Regions from separate parts of the Homo sapiens genome. Here region 2 is linked to region 1. The links are contacts of gene promoters, found by promoter capture Hi-C in blood cells and fetal thymus (Javierre and others, 2016). All regions are on one chromosome and are shown on one strand. Each heading gives the region's core, a stretch centred on a gene start or on the middle of the fragment in contact. The rest is flanking DNA. Distances are from core to core; before and after follow the strand shown. Region 1 holds the start of DZANK1 (double zinc ribbon and ankyrin repeat domains 1). Region 2 overlaps BFSP1 (beaded filament structural protein 1).

Evidence for each region. The method cuts DNA at HindIII sites, captures the fragments that hold promoters and counts their contacts. A CHiCAGO score of 5 or more calls a contact.
Region 2: a contact is called between a fragment that was not itself captured here and the fragment with the promoter of DZANK1 in region 1, in 1 of 17 cell types (total B cells). The highest score is 7.6, in total B cells.

The regions. Positions count from the first base shown.
Region 1 is chr20:18,465,176-18,468,279 of GRCh38, reverse strand. It overlaps DZANK1 (double zinc ribbon and ankyrin repeat domains 1), which reads left to right and starts at 1,250. Exons shown (of 21, transcript NM_001367614.1): 1 at 1,250-1,284; 2 at 2,903-3,030. The coding sequence starts at 2,922. POLR3F (RNA polymerase III subunit F) reads right to left here and starts at 890. Exons shown (of 9, transcript NM_006466.4): 1 at 712-890. The coding sequence starts at 773. RefSeq lists enhancers at 810-1,129, 752-1,370. The HindIII fragment of the contact is 20,751 bases long and covers 1-3,104 here.
Region 2 is chr20:17,506,958-17,510,061 of GRCh38, reverse strand. It overlaps BFSP1 (beaded filament structural protein 1), which reads left to right. Exons shown (of 8, transcript NM_001195.5): 5 at 1,066-1,173. Among named protein-coding and RNA genes, the nearest start is that of BFSP1, 23 kb to the left of the region's middle. The HindIII fragment of the contact is 208 bases long and covers 1,526-1,733 here.

The DNA of each region.
Region 1 (3,104 bases), core at 1-2,500:
CATGGTGAAACCCCGTCTCTACTAAAACATAAAAAATTAGCTGGGCGTGGTGGCGCGAGCCTGTAGTCCCAGCTACTCGGGAGGCTAAGGCAGGGGAATCGCTTGAACCCGGGAGGCGGAGATTGCAGTGAACCGAGATCGCGCCACTGCACTCCAGCCTGGCGACAGAGCGAGACTCTGTCTCACAAACAAACAAATAAAAATAAAAGTGGCAGAGGCTTTGGGTGTCCTAAAAGTCTTGAGTTCAATACTGCACTGAAACCACCTGGCTTAATGTTACTTCGTAATCACCAACTGCGCCCTAACTCCGCCTAAACGTTTTGTCATAGACGTTCCCTTAGTGACAAGAGCGATCCTGGATCAGAACATGTATTCACAAGTGTTCTACAGGGAAAGAAAGCCGAGGGCTCCTCTCAAAGCACTGATCGCGTCAAAGTAGGAAGGCAGCACGTCATCACAACTTCCCCAAAAGTATCAGGGCAAAGCCAGCCAGCTACACAAAGTTGCAAGCTGTCAAACCCATTTTGAACTTCTTGAGTTCTGCTCTCCCAGGATGGGAAGGAACAAGTGGGTCCAGAACCCCGCAATCGTTTTTCCCGCGTGCTCACCTAACCCGCTCCGGCCACTCCCAAGGGATCCCGGAGAAGGGGTCCAGCTGCCCAAATGACTGGGCGCCTGATGGAGTGCCAAGCCGGAGCCTCACTGGTTTACCTGTTTTCTATTTCGACCGGATCCGCGTCAGGCGGCTGCACCTTCACCTTCACCTCCGCCATGAGGGCGCAGTTCCTGACGCCTGGGGGGAAAGATGCACGGAGCAGCCCGGTAGCAAGCCGGGGAACCCGGGGAACCAGTGGAGGATAGCGCTCTGCTGAGGCCGAGGGGCCTTCTTCCTCGTGTCGCAGCCGGTCCTTCCTTGCCTTTCGGCGGGAGGTGGCCAAGCTGCGCCTGCTCCGGCCCACTTACAGGCGCCGCTACAGCTTCTTATTCTTGTTTTCCAGAATGTCAATGCCCATCGGACGCACAAGCCTGGTTCCTTCATTCTGAGTTGGGAAACCAACTTTTAGCACTTGGCAACTCTGTGAAGGAATATTCTTAGATGCCTATGGGAAAGCACTGGGAAAGGAACTCCAGGCGGGTACCAGGCTCCCTGCGGAGCGGCAGGGGCCGGTCTAGTTGCTAAGAAGCTGAGTCTCCACCAATCATCTGCCCAGCACCCAGTGGGCGGGGCGCGGCTCGCCGCGTCTGTGGTAACCCGGGCGGCGGCGAAGGAGGAGGCAAGAGGCGGTGAGAGGCTGGCGACTGGGTTGGGCGCGGCAGAGATGCATTAGGGGTCCCGATCCCGGGCCCCGCGGTTAGAGGAAGAGGAGGGCGGCTAGAGGAGGGGAAGAGCTTCCCTTACTCCAGCCGAAAGGATGCAGGTGTCCTTGGCAGCCCCTGATGGGCGGGAACAACCAAACGGGATTCCGGATCCGGGCTGCGAGGGGGCGGTCCACGTTGGGAGAGTTGAGGGGTCTGGGGATCCTGTTGACTGCACGTTGCCATTTGGGCCTGGCGGATCCGCCTTTTTTCTTGATTCCCTTTGCGTGGGGCCCACTGGCCACCCCAGCTTCCTAAGGGCAGCTGCTAGTTGACGCTCGCGAATTACTTCCTCTCCTACATATTTTTTATTTAGAATTTTTCAACTACTTTTATTTTATCTGCCTTTCACTTAAATGGAAATGCGACTATGGGCAAGTCTCAAGTCCAGCCACACTCCCGTAGGAGCTATTGTTGTGCTGTCAGTATCTGTAGTTTATATTCTTGGCCCTAGATCCGGAACTATCCAACAAGGCATTAAGTTCACCCCTTAAATTTAGGTACCCCATTTTTGAGAATACAGTCTGTGACAAAGCTCAAACTGCAGACATGTTCAGATCAGCATTATTAGAACTGCAACAGGCAAAACTAAAAAGAAACTAGAAATAGCCTAAATGCCCAGCCACAAATGGATAAATAAGTACAGGGAAAACTAAATAATACAGTGAGAATGCAAGAAGTAGACTATAAAAATGGAATGAATATGTAGATTATAATTGGGCAAAATCTATGGATTATTAATGAAATTTGAAAAGGCAATACAGAGATGTAAATGGTTGTTGTGTTAAGGTGAGCGTTTTTTCCCCCTGAAACCTTCTGTGCATTAATTATGACAACCTTCCTCCCCACCCTCACCTCCAAAAAGACCAGTAAGGCTTTCATACTGGTAGTTAATTATTAATACCAGGATTTATAAATACAGTAGATGAAACGGGAGGCTTGTGTTTATTGGTCACTGTTTATATTCTTGCAAACTTCCTTTCCACTGAGAAGTAGTACTCTGCAGTCCTTCTAAAGTGTCTTTGCAGCTTTCAAATACTAGAACTGCTCTGGTGATAATGGCAAGGCTGTGAACCCGGAGCTTTCCCAAAAAAGTTAGCTCTAACTAACATTTTGTGGTACACACAGAATTACTTCTGTTCCCCTTGTATGATGACTTGCCCTGAAGCCAAGAGAGCTGACACACACCAGAGGCAGGAAAAGGCGATAATGATTTACAGGGAACTCAAGTCAGAGCGTTAGTGATAGTCTCTGTTTTGCCTTACTCATTTAATTTGTCCTTTTAAAGTAACTTCTTTCTTTTCCCCATCTCATTCATTCATGCTCCTTTCGCAGAAGTGAGGTATTTAGATAATCAAAACCCCACACAAGACCTCAACAGCAAATACAGATGAAATGTAATTATTATTTCAATTAAAAAGGGAATAATATTTGTAGTGCCATGTTAACAGTATTCTCTCGTTTTAACTAGTTTTGCTGCATTTAAATTAAGTGCTGCTCTTCAGCTTTTGTGTACATTGGAATTTATATGTATATATATATAGAGAGAGAGAGAGAGAGAGAAAATGACTGCTGGTTCAGTGTGTGTCCCTCAGATCATACCATTACGAGTGCCTCAGCCTGGAAAAGCTAACCATGAAATTGATAACAATACGCTTTTGGAAATGAAATCAGGTAAGAATCACATATGTTTGAAATTGTTTAAAATAACATTGTCATATTTCTTGTGTTATCTGGTTGCTGGTTTA
Region 2 (3,104 bases), core at 380-2,879, 960 kb after region 1:
CACTTTCCTGTATGTCTATGTCATTGCTGCAGCCACTTTGTAAGGTGTTTGAAGCAGAGGCTGTCTTCCATGCAGCCTCTGGACACAGAAACCCTCATTGTAGACTTGGTGTTTGATTTTGCATGGCTTCGAGTCAATGTGCTCTGTGTCAGAATGCATGGCTCTTGAGCAGTCAGGCCTTTGTGAAACAATTTGAATATTTTTGAATAGACGTGGAAAGGCAGGTCAGGAGAGAGGGACCTGCTTGGCAGAGTGTGGAGAGGTCAGAGGATTTCCTTCTAGCCATTCCCTGGAGCGTCACTTCCCTTTCACCCACTGGGGCTGATGGCTCCTGCTTTGTGCTGCGCTGACATCCGAGCACAGCGTATGGCTCGCGGCTCCAACCAGCCTTCATTTTCTTCGAGAGTGTGCATTCCAGGTTTTCCCTTTCACAGAAGGGAAAACAGAGGCTTTGAGAGTCAAATCCTTTTCTAGAGTCTCTTAGTAGGTTCATGGCACAGCCAGGTCTAAGCTCTGGTCTCCTGGTACTTGGTCCCGGCATGTCACACTCCCAAGGAGGTTCAGACTTTGAAGACAAAGCAAAAGGCATTGATGGCTGTGCTGTGGGCCTGGCTTAGTCTTCTCAGGCTACTATAACAGGACACTACAGATGGGAGGGCCGACAGGCAGACATTTACTTCTCACTGTCCTGGGTGCTGGAAGTCCAAGATCAAGATGCCAGCAGAATTGGTGTCTGGTGAGGGCTCTCTTTCTGGCTTGAAGACGGCTGCCTTCTTGCTGTGTCTCACGTGACAGACAGACAGGGGGTGGGGGTGGGGGCTCTGGTGTCTCTTCTTGTTCTTACAAAGACCCTAATCACATGATGGGGCCCCCCATCCTCATGACCTCATCTAACCCTAACACCTTCCAAAGGTCTCCTAAAACCTTCATCTTGGGAGTTAGTTAGGGCTTCAACACAGAATTCAGGGGGACACGGATATTCCGTCCATACCAGGGCCCCGCACCTTCTCTGCCCTTTTCCTCTCTGCATGTCCCATGAGTCTGACTCTGGCCTTCTCTGTGCAGGAGAAGCTCCTGACGGAGCGGGAGGTGGCCGCCCTGCGGAGTCAGCTGGAGGAGGGCCGGGAGGTGCTCTCCCACCTGCAGGCGCAGAGAGTGGAGCTGCAGGCACAGGTACGCTCGAGTCTGCCGCGTGTGCATTGGGGCTTCCCACATGTTTCATGGAGGTGTTACGCGCAGGCACACGCATGCAGCTTGAGGAGCTGTCACACGCTGAACATATCCTATGTTCCTGGCAGAAACGGGGTTTTCTGAGTGGGTGGCCAAGCGCTCTGCTCTGGCCTGGACTGAGGAGTTTTCCAGGACACAGGGAGAGTCCTGAGCTGGGGGACACAGGTGCCACGCTCATTCCTGGCCCCTCAGAGGTGCCCCTTGGGACTCCTTCGAGTCATGCCCTCCCCACCGAGTCTTAGGCTTAGGCTGCCCCAGTGTCTACATCATGCATTCATTTTGCCCAGGTCAAGCTTCGTAAGAATAAGAAGAAACGGACACCATAGGGATTTTTATCCTCCACTTGTTCAAATCTGTGCTTCTGTTTTCCTTCTCATGGTAACAGTTCTCCTTCGGAATTTGATTACAACCCGGCAAGAGTGGTTGTATCAGTGTTTGCTTCTAGTTAGAAACGTGTTGGTGGAAAGCTCACATTTCTACCCCCACCCCTTTTGGGTGAAGCTTAATTTGAAAACAAAACAGAAAAGCCCCAAACTGTCCTGTGGCCTGTGCCTTCTTGGCTACTTGCCGGCTCATCTTCTTTGTTCCTTCCGGTTCTCTCTCTTTCTCATTACCCTACAGCAGGTCATTCCACAGGGACGCTTGGGTTAAAATACTGCACCTTTGTATGGCTCTCTAACCACATTTCCCAAACCAAAAAGTAAGTTGACATTTGGTTTGACAAGTACACATGGGGACAAGAGAGCAAAACGTGTAAAAATCGGACACTTCAGAAAGCCTGGACCATTTGGATGTTATGTGTTACTCTGTCTAAAAATGTGAAGCCACAACTAGATGTAGCGCTTTTTATTGATTTCCAGTGCCCCCATGTCTGCTCAGGATTTCATTTTGGGACCTTGGAGTTCACATCCTAATTCCCATCCCAGCACGCACCACACAAAACTCACAGTGCAGCAGCTCTCAGGGGCTGCTGGAAAGCAAACCCGGGTCTGTGGTGGTCCCCTGAACTGACGATCGCAGCAGGAGGAACCAAGTAAGGCACTTAAAACTCCTCCTTCTTGTGAGACAAACCCTGGCTCAGGGACCATGTGCCTCATCCTGGTGACTGGGGCCTGTGTGGTTTCTTCTGAGGCTCTGACAGGATAGAATAAGGGTTGTATGTGTTTGTGTACATGGGGTGTGTGTGTGTGATATACATGGTATGTGTGATATATGTGGGATGTGTATGTGAAGTGTGTGTGGTGTGTGTGTGTCATGTGTATGTGTGTGTGCTGTGTATGTGAATAGGGACGTGGATACAAGCCCAGTCGTGGTCCTAGAGACCAGTGTTTTCCAAATGGCTAGTGACAACTCATTTTTGGATGTAAAATGAACTCAGTAGAATTGACTGGCATGTAAAAGGAAGTCAACAAAATGCTAGACTAAAATATAATAAGAAAAACAGAGTGTACAGCAAGTGAAAGGGAGGATTTGTTTTGTGAAGCCCTTGTTTTATCTCTCTATATCCATATGGATATGTTGAAATACACACACACACACACACACACACACACACACACCTACCTATCTGATGTGTATGGCTCGCAATGAGAAATGTGGTTTTTCCTGGGGCGGTGGTGATAAAGTTGAAAACCACTGCCCTAGAGATACTGAGAAAGATGAAGGAGCCCAGCCTAGATGGCAAATTCCAGTTCCAGGACAAAAAGAATGTTCCTCTCTTTATGTACAGGTATTTGTTGAATATCAAAATAAGAAATTTCACAACAGATTAACCTGGTTTCTGAGAACATGAAATGAAACCGCTGGTTGGCCGCCTGTTTCTGTCCTGAGTGGCTGCAGGAGGACTTCCTGGCTTTTCCCTGCTGCCCTCGTCT